Regions from separate parts of the Homo sapiens genome. Here region 2 is linked to region 1. The links are contacts of gene promoters, found by promoter capture Hi-C in blood cells and fetal thymus (Javierre and others, 2016). All regions are on one chromosome and are shown on one strand. The core of a region is centred on a gene start or on the middle of the fragment in contact, and the rest is flanking DNA. Distances in the headings are between cores, read along the strand shown. Region 1 holds the start of CRABP1 (cellular retinoic acid binding protein 1). Region 2 overlaps LOC105370913 (a long non-coding RNA gene).

Region 1 (6,556 bases), core at 2,058-4,557:
CCCTCTGGGGGAACTTCAGGATTATTTCAGGGTCAAGGGTTCCCTACCAGGATAAGTTCATCGTTGGCCAGCTCACGGGTCCAGTAGGTTTTGGGGCCGTCCCCTTCAAGAAGAGTTTGCGTGCAGTGGATCTTGTTCTCATTCTCCCAAGTGGCTAAACTCTGCAGGCGGGAAAACCATTAGTGACATTAATTAGAGTCTCAGCAGCGGGAGCAGGGACAACAATGAGCATTGAAAAATAATTGCTCTGCAGAGAATCAACACATGGTCCCTGTCAGCAGGCCACAGATTCTTCTCCGCTGAGCCTTATAAAGTCCAAATTCAGAGTGCTGGTCACAGATTTTATGGGGTATAAATACACCTTGTATAACACACACACACACTCACAAGCACACACAAACAATCTCTTACTGAAGCAGCGAGGCCTTAGGCATGCTTTACATCTCTAGGAATAAAATTTAGAGCATGAAATGATTCATTTATATAAAAATTAGCTAACCCTTCAAACAATTTGGATTTTATTTATTTTTATTCATTTTTTTTTTGAGATGGAGTCTCGCTCTGTTGCCCAGGCTGGAGTGCAGTGGCACAATCTTGGCTCCTTACAACCTCCACCTCCCAGGTTCAAGCAATTCTCCTGTCTCAGCCTCCTGAGTAGCTGGGATGACAGGTGCCTGCCACCACGCCCAGCTAATTTTTTTGGTATATTTAGTACAGATGGGGTTTCACCAGGCTGGTCTCGAACTCCTGACCTCAGGTGAACATAATTTGGATTTTAAAAGCAAGAACCTTCACATCAGAACCACAAGATTTGACAACAGTTAAGACACCAAGTTTGTAACCACATCTGTCATCAGCCTATCAGGAGCACGATTCCCTGCATGGATTTTGGGATAGGAACGTCCTTTCTGTTCACTCCTCATCAGATTTAGTGCACCCCTGCACTGATAAACCTCGGTGTCTTTGGCTCTGAGGGTTAAAATGCTGCCACTTTCCCGGTTACATCCCTTTAGAAAAAATTTAAAAAGCAAATCAATCTGAAGGCTCTTCATGCTTTTGGAGGTGGGAGGCAAAAGGAGGGATTTCCTGAAGTTTTTCCCCAGTGTCTGCACAAAGCTAAGTGTGGTACAGCTGGGCTGGGGGGTGGGCCAGAGCTGAATGTGCACATAATCAGTTTTTAACTAACACATGGGACACATTCATTAGGCAAGGTGTGGGGGGATGGGGGGTGCATAAAGCCCCACTCTCCCGGCTGTTGTGTGAACCTTTAATTTTTTTTTTTTAAATCAGAATTACCCTTCCTGGCAGTAGCCAACATTGGATGTCCCCAGACTGAGCCCTGCCTATTGCCAAGCCTCCTCTCTTAGACTCCCAGCCCTTCACTCTATGCTGTCCTGCTCTTTGTTTCTGCAGTGCAGTTTAGGCTTCAGATCCCACCCCCTCCAAGCGTGGAGATCATTTCCAGGCTATGACAATTCTGGAGCCAAAGATTGCCTCCTAGATCAGCCTGCTTCTGGGGGGCTTTGTTTCTTTGTCCTTCCAAGCCCGGTGCTCAGAGAGTCCCATTCCGAGATCAGACCAGGCACTGCTCAGGAAAGGTGAAAGAAACAATTTCCCACTCTCTGGAATGTTACGACTTTTTTCTTTAAAAAAAAAAAATTGGAGAAGGGGAGGGAGACATTCTGTCACTTTTTAAATAAGTGGTAGCACCGGTGATTATTTTTCCATCTGGTTAACCAAATGCAATTTTTGCCCATGCAAAAAACGAATGTACAACCCCTTGCTTCAATCCACCGGTTCATCCCTGGGCCGATGCATGGAGAAATAAAAAAAAACTCTTGCCCTTGAGGACTAAGAGAGGGCAACTAGTCCATTTTCCCAGCCAGAACCTGCCTTGCTTTTGGAAAGACTCCGCCGTTCCTTTAAGGAACCAGGCCGAAGGCGGGAAGGGAGAGGTGACGGGGCCATCGGGACTGCTAAAACTGTATCCAGAGCGTACCCAGGCGGCCCAGGGACCCGGGCGGGCGCGGGGGATACGGCGGGAAAGGAATGCAAGAGCTGCGGCTTCACCTGCGACAGAGAACCTGGCGGCTCCTGCAACCTCCTCCTCCTCCTGCGCCGCCTGCGCTTGGCGCTGCAAACCGCTGCAAAAGCCACTGCTGGGAACGCGGCGCAACCCAGAGCCCGCTCTTTAAGCGCGGCTGTTAGCACCCCGGGAGGCAGCGTAGGGATGGGGTTGAGATGGAATGAAGGTAATACTTTGTCTTGAGCCAGGGGCAACTAGGATGCACAAACCCCCTCTGCAAACAGCCAGTGTACACACCCTGCAAGGAAGGCGCGCCACAGGCTGCAAAGGGAGACACAGGTTCCTCCAGCAGCAGTGGGCCATGGGCACCGAGCGGGGACACGGGGACGCTGTAGTGGCTCTGGGGCCTCACCCTGCACTTGCGTCCGTCCACGGTCTCCTCCTCAAAGCCTTCTCCGACCTTGAAGTTGATCTCAGTGGTGCGCACCGTGGTGGATGTCTTGATGTAGAACTGATCCCCGTCCTGGCGGATCTCCACGTGCGGCTTGGACGCAGCCGCTACGGCCACTTTCCTCAGCATGGCGTTCACACCTGCGCAGGGTGCACCACAGGCTTGGGTCACGGGGCCTCGCCGCCAGTCTCGGGACCGGTCGGGCACTGGTCATACCCTAACTTTAGAAAGGGGCCTTAAAATTGATCCACTCGTTTCCCTGCCCTCGCCCTTGTTTTCGAGATGAGAGACTGAGGCACAGAGAGGGTAAGTGACTTTCCTCGAGTTGCACAGTGAATTCGTGGCAGAGCCTGGTCCCAAATTTGAGTCTCCAAATTTAAGTCCCTGATCCTCCTTGCTCTCCAGTAATCTCTCCTCGCTATGATCTAGCACGAGATAAAGTCCGCACCATCGAGGAGGGCGCCAAACATTCAGCAAACGTTCGCTGAACGCGTGGGTTCCGGGATCTCTACCAGCTTCTCCGAGACCCGGTGCGCCTGGGAGACAAGGCGATCTATTGCCCCGGGGACTCCCTCCTGCCTGGGCTCCCCAACTTCCACCCCCTCCAGGACCGGGGCACTTCCGGGACCAGGGCACCTCCGGGCCGCATCTCCCCGTCGGGGCGCGCCCTCTGCACCAGCTTACCCAGTGCCTTGAGCAGCTCGTCGAAATTCTCGCTGCTGCGCATCTTCCAGGTGCCGGCGAAGTTGGGCATGGTGGCGGTGGCGGCGGCGGCAGGTACGGACAGCGGCGGCGCAGCGGGCACACTCTGAGCTCGCAAGGCGGAGACTGGCGCTTTGCGCCCAGCGCTGCGCGCCTTGAGTCACTAGGAGAGCGCCCCCAACCCCGCCGGGCTTCTGGCCCCGCCCCGCCGGCCCTGCCCCCGCTCCCCCGCAGCCCCTACTCGGTATGCGCTCAACTCCCAGCCCAGTTGTGCCTCAGCCTCCAGAGGTGCGGGCACCCGCTCTCCAACTGGGGAGCCTCCACCTCCCTCAGGACACCCACATCCCGCTTTAAAATGGGTGGTGGGAGAGGGTTAGCTGAAACAAGATGGGCTTGGAGGGGATAACTGTTGAAGCTGGGCGGTGTGGACTTGGGTTATGATTCTACTTTTCTCTCTACTTTTGAATATGTTTGAAAATATCCATAACATAAACTTAAAGTGGATAGCGAGCGGGGCCATCAGGGGATGGGACCCACTCTTTTTTCACCTCCGGTCGTACCTACTGGGTGTGCCCAGATGGTGTCCCTTCCCTCCCAGTCCGGGATCCTATTCTGAAACCCTCTCCCCGCATCCCCACGCCCCCCACAGGACCCATGGGGAGTGAGTGGCAGGAAACCGCAACCCCCATCAACACCAGCTTGGGCACTGAGGCGCGAATCCACGAGCTGCGGGTCCTCCGCGTTCCGAGTGCAGGAGGGGGCCAGACCTTTGTCAGGGCTCAGGACAAACTGTGGGTCGAGAGGCATGGACTGAATCAGCTCCAGAATCTGGGCTAGGTGCGGCCTGTTTTGCAAAAGCGTGAGGCTTTGCACTCTTCGGGCAGGCTGTGAGGGCCAAGGGGAGGAAGTCTTCTCCCTTTGCTCCCAAATAACCTAAACATCACGACCTAAAGTCCCCTCGGTGTTTCCACTAAGGGAGTACAAACACTTCACTATTACCCTTGTAGCTCTTCTCTGTACATTTTCCTTCCAGCTTTTTCCCACTATTTTACCATCTGCACACCTCAGCCAAACTGTACAATTCAGGATTCTAGAACGTGCCATGCATTTTATTATCTCTAAGTTTTTGCCCATGCCATGGCTTCTTCCTTGAATGCCCCTTTCCTCATCGGGTTAATCAAATCTTGCCCATTCACGAAAGCCCATCTTTATGCTCTCTCTTTTGTGAAATTCAGTTTCCTAATAAACTGTGATTATTTTTCTCTGAATTGACAGGATTCTTGTCCGGTCCTGCTCTTGTTCAAGTCTTCGCTCTGCTATAAACTGAACTCCTGGAGGGCAGTGATCGTTTATCCACTTGTCCTCCCTTCCTAAGGCTTAGCCAGGTGGGGCTCGATAACTGTGCATTGATTTGAGGAGGATGTGAGTGGTGGCCTGGGGTGAAGATTCCCCCAGGACCTTGGGGAATCTGTGCTGAGTGCCTACTGAACAGGGCCCTGGAAACTTCTGGAGGTGGCTGGGGCTGGGTTGCTGCCAGGAGGCTCCGAGGATCTGTCTAAGAAAGCAGCTGAGGACAGGAGAGGGGAGTGGGGCCATCACCAGCTGGAAAGGGGCATGGGCAGGGCCGGCATTCTGGACGTGCCGTCTGTGCAGTCACACAGGGCCATGCACTTAGAAGGGCCTGATAGTTAGATTGGAAAATGGAAAAGCAGGAATGCTCTGCTATTGCCAGCTTGAACGTCAGAATACTTTTTGTTTGTTTGTTTGTTTTGAGACAGAGTCTCGCTCTGTTGCCCGAGCTGGAGTGCAGTGGCGCAATCTTGGCTCACTGCAACCTCTGCCTCCTGGGTTTAAATGATTCTCCTGGCTCAGCCTCCCAAGTAGCTGGGACTACAGGTGTGTGCTACTATGCCCAGCTAATTTTTTGTATTTTTAGTAGAGACAGGGTTTCACTGTGTTAGCCAGGATAGTCTCGATCTCCTGACCTCGTGATCCGCCCTCCTCGGCCTCCCAAAGTGCTGGGATTACAGGCATGAGCCACCGTGCCTGGCCCCATAATACTTTTTGAACAAGGAGTCCTGAATTTTTATTTTGCACTGGGATCTGCAAATTAAGTAGCAGGTCCTGGATGTGGGAGGCAAGGGATGGAGCTGCCATAGAATCAAACCCACTTCACAGAGGGTTGAGTGCCTCTCCAGTGAAGGGGCAAAACAGGAGTGCCATCCAGCTAATGCAGGCCTCTGCCCCCATCCAACACTCTTCCCTAAGAAGGCTTCAGCCATCTAAAGGGCAGGGCTGGGGAGGGACTGGGGCAGGAGGCTGGAGGAGGGCAGCAATGTTGGAGCAGCATCCTAGTTTACAGCCCAGAGAGACCTTGTGAGGATAGTCAGAGGGCCGTGGATGAGGCACAAAGGTGACAGAGAGCTCTTGCAGCAAAGGCATTGGATGGACAAAGAGGGAAGAGGGAAAGAAGAAGGTGAGGGAGGGAGTCAGAGAGAGAATGGGGCAAGAGGGGCCAGATGAAGGTGTCCACTCCAAAAGTTGGCCATACTGGGACAGGACAGTGGTGTCGTTCTGCAGGCACAAAACAAGGGCGGGAGCAGGGTCCAGGAGTGAGGAGGGCACAGCCAGTTCAGCCATAGAGTGGAAGATGATCCCAGAGTCCTTGTGAGCCCACTCTCCTTGTTTTTAAGACAGGGTCTGGCTCTGTCGCCAGTGCTGGAGTGCCCTGGTGCCATCTTGGGTCACTGTAACCTTGCCTCCCGGGCTCAAGCAATCCTCCTGCCTCAGCCTCCCAAGTAGCTGGGATTACAGGCATGCACCACCGTGCCTGGCTAATTTTTGTATTTTTAGTAGAGACAGGGGTTTGCCATGTTGCCCAGGATGGTCTCGAACTCCTGAGCTCAACCAGTTTGTCCACCTCAGCCTCCCAAAGTGCTAGGATTACAGGCATGAGCACCCAGCCTGCTGTCCTTGTTAATGGAAGTTTAGAGGTGACCAGAGCAGACAGGAGGGGCCAGGACTTCTCAGAAGACCCAAATCTCATCAGGTGGCACATGGAAATGGGAGGGCAGGCTGCTATCACCTTCCTGGCTACTGGGGAAACCCCAGAGTCAAGAGGGCCACAAAAACACCACCACCATGGCTGGGCACGGTGGCTCACACCTGTAATCCCAGCACTTAGGGAGGCTGAGGCAGGCGAATCACCTGAGGTCAGGAGTTCGAGATCAGCCTGGCCAACATGGTGAAAACCCATCTCTACTAAAAATACAAAATTAGTCGAACATGGTGGTGCGCCCCTGTAGTCCCAGCTACTCAGGAAGCTGAGTGAGGAGGATCACTTGAACCCAGGAGTCCCAGGTTGTAGTGAGCAGAGA
Region 2 (7,287 bases), core at 506-3,005, 350 kb before region 1:
GGTGCCTTAGTCAGCTCAGGCTGCTATAACAAATTACTAGGTGGCTTAGACAGTCATTTATTTTTCATAGTTCTAGAGGCTGGGAAGTTGGAGATCAGGCTGCCAGCATGGTTTGGGTTGGGTGAGGACTCTTTTCTTGGTTTCTCCTATGGAACCTCCTTGCTATATCCTCACACGGCAAAGAGAGAGAGAGAAGGCCTACTTGCTCGTGTTTCTTCCTATAAGGGCATTAATTTCATCATGCAGGATACAAACATTCAGTGCATAGCACCTGGGAAGGCTCAGTTAGGCCCAGGGTGGGAACAGGATGCCAGGAGGTGCAAAAATTTCTGTCAGTCTGGCACTCTGTTCCCCCTCCCCCTCCCCTTCCTCCTCTTGCTCCTCCTCCTCCTTCTGATCCCCTCCCTCTTTCTTCTCTGCAGCTCTCCACTCCCTTCCTAGACTTTCTTCATAGAGCCAGAAGAGGGTACCTGAATTGGCCTGGACTGCTCAGCCTGTACGGTTCTGGGAGTGGGGTGGGGTGGATGGAGTGAACTCAGCAGGCACCCCCAGCTCTGCTCTCCTGTGGTGTGACTGGATCTCCAGGAGGGACTTCGACTTTTCCAGGTCTTAGCACTGAAGATGCTTTGGTGCTTCTGCACAGGGGAGAAAATTCAAAATAAAAACAAAACCATAAACCATGCAATACAACTTTTATATGGATGCTAAAAATAAAATGTTGTTTTGTTTTCTTAAAGTTTCCAATGGCAAAAGTCTGAATATTTGGAAGCTGAACCTCCTTTGCCCTCTTTTGGAGGATGTACTGGTTTTGTAGTCATCCGAAACCCGCCTTGGTTTACCTATGTACTGGGTCACCCAGTCCTGTGGACCTTTGAGTCTCAAGCCCATGCACACCAGGGCAAAGGCCTTTGGAACCCTAGTATTCTTCCTGGGGTGGGAAACACACTGACTCCTCTGCATTATCCCCCTCACCCCCACCCTAATGGCTCTGCAGGGGAGAAGGGCTTTGATGCATTATTCAGGGATCTTCAGGGCCAGCTCTCAGCTGATTCCCAACATGTGATTCACTATGAGCTGGAGCTCAGCTGAGCTCGGGGAAGACCCAGGTAAATAGAAGCCATCCCTGGCCTGGACTGGGAGCAGGGGGATGGGGCAGGACTCTGATCAGCATCAGTCTTGCCAGGCAGGGGCCCAGAAGCTTGGGGGGATTCTGGGGATGCCTTGGCCTGAGGCTGTAGGATCGTCCAAGATGGGTGTCCAGGAAGAGGGGAACATGAGCCACTGAAGCCATAGCCGAGACCCAGGCCATGGCACATGATAATATGTGGGATTCCTGGGGCAGGGCCTGTGTCTGGCATGTGGCAAGAGCTCAAAAACTAATGGTGGGATCAAATCCCCATGAGCAGAGCCCATCCAGGGTCACCAAAGAGCCTCCTGTCACCCTGGCCTGTCTCACTGGGGTTCTGCCTTGTTGATGCCGAAAATCTGAAGCTGATTACAGTAAGCAGTCAGTAGCCCTCTCCCAGCCTGGTCTTTCCTGGCCTCAGGCCACATACCACTTCCAGGAAGCCCTTGTTTTCCGCTGCAATGTGGCTTCCTCTGCTCCGAGTGTGGATCTGGTGTGAGCTTGGCATTGGAAGTCGCTTGGCTGGATTCAGACTCTAGGTCCCCAGTACAGCAAAGCCACTCATTAACCATGTGGTCTCAGGCAAGTGACTTAACCCCTCTGAGCCTTGATTTCCTCATCCATAAATGAAAACTAATACTAGTCCCTATTATCAGAGCTCACAGAGTGAAGTGCAGAGCACAGTGCTTGGCATATGAGAAGCACTAAGCATGTGTTAACTGGATGAACGAATGAGGAAATGAAGGAAGTGGGGCCTGCCCAGGGATTGACCTAGGGAAGCATCTCCTGGCTTCCTCCCGCTAAGGCTCTAGCCAAACCCTCCCCATCACTGAGAAGGCCTCGGGGCCAGCAGGTGATGTGAGGAGGAGAGAGTGACAGTGAGGAACACCTCCAGACCTGGGAGGGTCCTGTGGGGGCCCTTCCTGGCACCAGGAGATGAGGGAGAAAAGGATTAAAGGCAGGAGCTTTCCCAGGACGAATCAAGTCATTATAGGGTTGGATTGCAGGCGCTCAGTTTACATGATAAAGTTCCTTTTGGAAGGGGTGGAAATACTGGTTTTAAGAAACGATTTAGCTTGCATGACATGACTGCAAAGGGCAGAAATAAATATGAATGCCTAATCCAAATTCAGTCCTCTCCAAAAAGCATCCAACTCTCTGAAAGTTGGTTTTGAAGGAAGCTTTTCCCCCACTCCCATCCAGACCCTGCTCCTAAAAGGCAAGGTGTCCAATCATCTGGCAGGGGAAACAGCTTCAATTCTGCCCAGCCCTAGTTGTTCTTAATTAAAGAACAATCTGTTTTTTTTTTTTAACTCTTTGTTCTGTGATCTTTTTTACCCCATCTCTTTTCAAAGGTGTTTTCTTTTGTTTTGTTGAGACAGGGTCTCACTTTGTCTCCCAGGCTGGAGTGCAGTGGTGTGATCTCAGCTCACCGCAACTTCTGCCTCCCAGGATCAAGCAATCCTCCCACCTCACCCTCCCGAGTAGCTGGGACTATAGGTGCACGCCATCATGCCTGGCTAATTTTTGTATTTTTTTACTGTAGAGATGGGGTCTAGCCATGTTGCCCAGGTTGGTCCAAAACTCCTGGGCTCAAGCAATCCTCCTGCCCCAGCCTCCCAAAGTACTGGGATTACAGGCATGAGCCACCTTGGCTGGCAAAAGCTGTGATCTTTATGCATCAGAGAGGAACATCAAGAAAGCAGAAACTTGCTTGGCTTGCCAGATCTTGGGAGGTTTTGTTCCCATGCTAGGTCTTGGGCCTCTCTCACCTGGAGCTACAGCAGACATTTCAGCCATATCTCACAATACTGATTTCAGCTCTCCTCTCTCCCACTACATGACAACCAGAAGCTTTATTAGAAAGCCTTAGCCTGACATTGTGACCTCTACATTGAGGTAAAGAACTAGATAGAAAAAAGGTCTATCTAGTCCAAAATGTCAGAGAGGCCAGGTGCGGTGGCTCATGCCTGTAATCCCAGCACTTTGGGAGGCTGAGGCAGGCAAATCACCTGAGGTCAAGAGTTTGAGACCAGCCTGGCCAACATGGTAAAACCCCATCTCTACCAAAAATACAAAAATTAGCCAAGTGTGGTGGCAGGTGCCCATAGTCCCAGCTACCTAGGAGGCTGAGGTACAAGAATCACTTGAACCCGAGAGCCGGAGATTGCAGTGAGCTGAGATTGCACCCTTGCACTCCAGCCTGGGTGACAAAGCAAGACTTAAGTCTCAAAAAAAAAAAAAGAAAAGAAAAAAGTCAAAGAGAAACTCTGGGTTAGAGGAAGGGTTGTCCTCCAATGAGCATGGCCTTAGGCTTTCAGCCCCTCTAAGAATGAGTTGTTCCTTGCTTTTTGTCCTCCAATGACCACATCCTTAGGCTTTCAGCCCAAGAATGAGTTGTTCCTTGCTTTTTTTCCTCCATCTCTCATTGGCCCAGATGTGGGGAAGGGAGGAGTTAGACCAGGGTAGGATCCAAGCACTCCTGATCCTCTGAGCCAAATATGGTTCTCCAGATAGCACAATTTCCCTGAAAAATGCAGTCCAACATGGAGAGGGTGAGAAACATGCTTCATCTTCTACTACACTGGCTTTAAGAACTAATCTTAAAAACATGACAAGAGGCCAGGCGCAGTGGCTCACACCTGTAATCCCAGCACTTTGGGAGGCTAAGGTGGGCAGATGACCTGAGGTCAGGAGTTCGAGACCAGCCTGGCCAACATGGTGAAACCCCGTCTCTACTAAAAATAAAAAATTAGCTGGGAGTGGTGGCACGCACCTGTAGTCCCAGCAACTCAGGAGGCTGAGGCAGGAGAATCGCTTGAACCCAGGAGGCAAAAGTTGCAGCAAGCTGAGATCATGCCACTGCACCCCAGCCTGGGCGACAGAGTGAAACTCCATCTCAAAAACAACAAAAAATGAAAAGAACATTCACTATAGAGCTGTTCATAACTGAAAAAGATTAAAAACAACCTAAATGTCTACTTATAATGACCAGATAAATAAATCATGATACATTCATGCAGTGGGATTATATGCAGTTGTTGAGTGAGATAGCTCTAGATATAATGATACAAAACAATCTGCAAGACATATTATTAAGAATACTTAATGTGTGAGCCACCAGGCACAGTGGCTCACACCTGCAATCCCAGCACTTTGGGAAGCTCAGGCAGAAGGATGGCTTGAGCTCAGGAGTTTGAGACCAGCCTGGGCAACATAGTGAGACCACATCTCTACAAAAGCAAAAAAATTAGTCGGGTGTGATGGCACACACTTGTGTTCTCAGCTACTTGGGAGGCTGAGGTGGGAGGATTGCTTGAGTAGGTGAGGTCGAGGCTGCAGTGAGCTATGATTGTGTCACTACACTGCAGCCTTGGTGACAGAGCAAAACCCTGTCTCAAGAAAGAAAAAGGTTATCAGAAAGATGCAGGAACAATATGCCAGGTGTAGTAATACTTGTGTGAAAATATATTTAAAAATACTATTGAAACCTAGATGCTGAGCATGCTTAGACCCTCTCAGAAAAGATACACAAGAATGCAGTAACACTGGTTGTCTCTTGGGAGGGGAGCTGGGGCCTGGAGGGGGAAGGGATAGGAGAGAGATTCACTCTTCACTCTAGGTCCTTTGCATCTTTTGAATTTTGTACTCTATGCATGTACTATCTATTCAAAAACAAACACAGATGGTCCCCAGCTTATGATGTTGTATTTTTTTTTTTTTTTTTTGAGATGAAGTTTTGCTCTTGTTGCTCAGGCTGGAGTAAATGGCACAATCTTGGCTCAATGCAATCTCTGCCTCTCAGGTTCAAGTGATTCTCCTGCCTCAGCCTCCCAAGTAGCTGGGATTATAGGCATGTACCACCACCCATGGCTAATTTTTTGTATTTAGTAGAGACGGGGTTTCACCACATTGGTCAGGCTGGTCTTGAACTCCTGACCTCAGGTGACTCACCTGCCTTGGCTTCCCAAAGTGCTGGGATTACAGGCGTGAGCCAACATGCCCTGCCCCACAATGGTTTGAATTAATATTTTTTGACTTTACAATGGTGCAAAAGTGATACACATTCAACAGGAACTGTACTTCAAGTACACATATAACCATTCTGATTTTCACTTTCAGTATTCAATAAATTACATGAGATAGTCAACATCTGATTATAATATAGGCTTCGTGTTAGATGATATTGCCCAGCTGTAGGCTAATGTAAGTGTTCTGACCATGTTTAATGTGGGCTGGGCTAAGCTATGAGGTTCAGTAAGTTGGGTGTATTAATTGCATTTGTGACTTACAATATTTTTCTTTTACAGTGGGTTTATTGGGAAGTAACTCCACAGTAAATGGAGGAACATCTGACACTACACACAATGGGACATTATTCTGCCTTAAAAAGGAATAAAATTCTGATACATCTTACAACATAGATGAACCTGGAAAACATGCTAAATGGAATAAGAGACAAAAAGACAAATCTTTATGAGTCCACTTACATTAGGTACCTAAAATAGGCAAATTCACAGAGACAAAAGTAGAATAGTGATTATTAGGGGCTGGGGGAGAGGGAATGGGGAGTTACTGTGGAATGGCTACAGCGTTTCTGTCTGGAATGATGAAAAAGTTCTGGAAATGGATAATGGTGATGGTTGTACAGCATTGTGAATGCACTTAATGGCAGTGAACTGTACACTTAAAAATGGTTAAATGGTATGTTTTACATTACAGACATTTTACCACAATAAAAACCAAATATATAACATAATCTATTTTAAAATAAATGTTTTACGATTTCAGTGTCTAACGACCACTTAATGAAAATCCACCGCCTCCAGTGGGAGTATGTGACAACCAAGAGCCTGAGCTTTGGAATCAAACTGAACGGAGTTGGACTCATGCCTCCACCATAACTAGTTTTGTCACCTTATAAATTAACCTTCTAGAGTAGAAGTCAGTAAACTCTTCCTATAAAGGGTTAGACACTGAATATTTTAGGCTATGCAGGCCATATATGGTTTCTGCTGCAAGCAACTACTCAATGTAAATGGCAGCAGCCATAGACAACACATGAATGAATGAACAAGGCTATGTTCCAGTAACAACGGGCAGTGGCTGGATTTGGCCCACAGGCTACAGTTAATCAATCTCTGCTCTCAGTTCCCACATTTGTAAGATAGGGACAATAATATAACTACCTCATAGGGCTGTTGTGGGAATAAATGGGGCAATGTGTCAAATTCTTTGCTAAATGCTTTATGTATAAAAAGTAAGCCAATAAATGTTTGTTTTTGTTGATGTGGTTGTTGAGGTAGATGCTGAGAATGCAGAAGAAGAAAGCCACATTTATGGAACACCTACTGTAAACATACTAGGGCCAACTCTTAATGCGACAGGATTTCATTTGTTATTTTTATTAGTTACTTGATCAAAACATCTCATGTTGGCATGGAGCTTCGTGCTTTGGGTCCATTAGCTCGTTTCATCTTCCTGATTACTCTCTGGGGTAAATGTTCTGAATCAGGAAGCCAGACCTCCGAGGTCACCCTGCTAGGGAGAGCAGAGACAAGGTTTGAAACCTCAGCCATCTTATTCCAAAGACTGGGTTCTCAACCAAGGGTGGTACTGCCCACTTCTACTCCACTCTGTTCCCTCCACCCTGGGAGATTTGGAAATGTCTGGGGCTTTTTTTTTTGTGGGGAGGAGGGTTTTATAAGAATGAGGAGGCACTGTTGGGGTTTAGTGACCAGGGTCCAGGAATGCTAAAGGCAGACTCGTTTAAATGTCTGTAAAACAAAAAATTATCCAGTCCCAAATGGACTCCCAAATATCAGTGGTGCTCCACGTCATGCTGCCCAGATGTGACTCCATTACCACCCTGCCTTGAGCAGCTCACAGTCCTACGGGGAGACGGTGCACTGGAGCACAGATTCTTTCTGTTTCCCTCTAAATCTGCATGAAAGGCAGTGCGGTGTAATAGAAAGGCCGCTGGATTGTCAGAGGCTAAAACCACTGACTTGACCATTGAACAGCTGTGCAAAGTAGGGCAACTGGCTTGACCTCTCTGGGCTTCAGTATCCTCAGAGTGAAAAGAGGATCCTGACACATGCCTGTCCCCTTTTAGGGATGTAACTAGGATCGGATGGAGCAGCAGTGTGAAAGTGCATACC

What was found. The method cuts DNA at HindIII sites, captures the fragments that hold promoters and counts their contacts. A CHiCAGO score of 5 or more calls a contact.
Region 2: a fragment that was not itself captured here is called in contact with the fragment with the promoter of CRABP1 in region 1 in 1 of 17 cell types (erythroblasts); the score reaches 6.6 in erythroblasts.

What each region holds. Positions count from the first base shown.
Region 1 is chr15:78,337,104-78,343,659 of GRCh38, reverse strand. CRABP1 (cellular retinoic acid binding protein 1) reads right to left here and starts at 3,307. Exons shown (of 4, transcript NM_004378.3): 1 at 3,162-3,307; 2 at 2,439-2,617; 3 at 48-161. The coding sequence starts at 3,231. RefSeq lists an enhancer at 3,129-3,757. The HindIII fragment of the contact is 12,559 bases long and covers 1-6,556 here.
Region 2 is chr15:78,686,030-78,693,316 of GRCh38, reverse strand. It overlaps LOC105370913 (a long non-coding RNA gene), which reads left to right. Exons shown (of 3, transcript XR_932509.2): 3 at 423-741. Among named protein-coding and RNA genes, the nearest start is that of CHRNB4, 48 kb to the right of the region's middle. The HindIII fragment of the contact is 1,109 bases long and covers 1,201-2,309 here.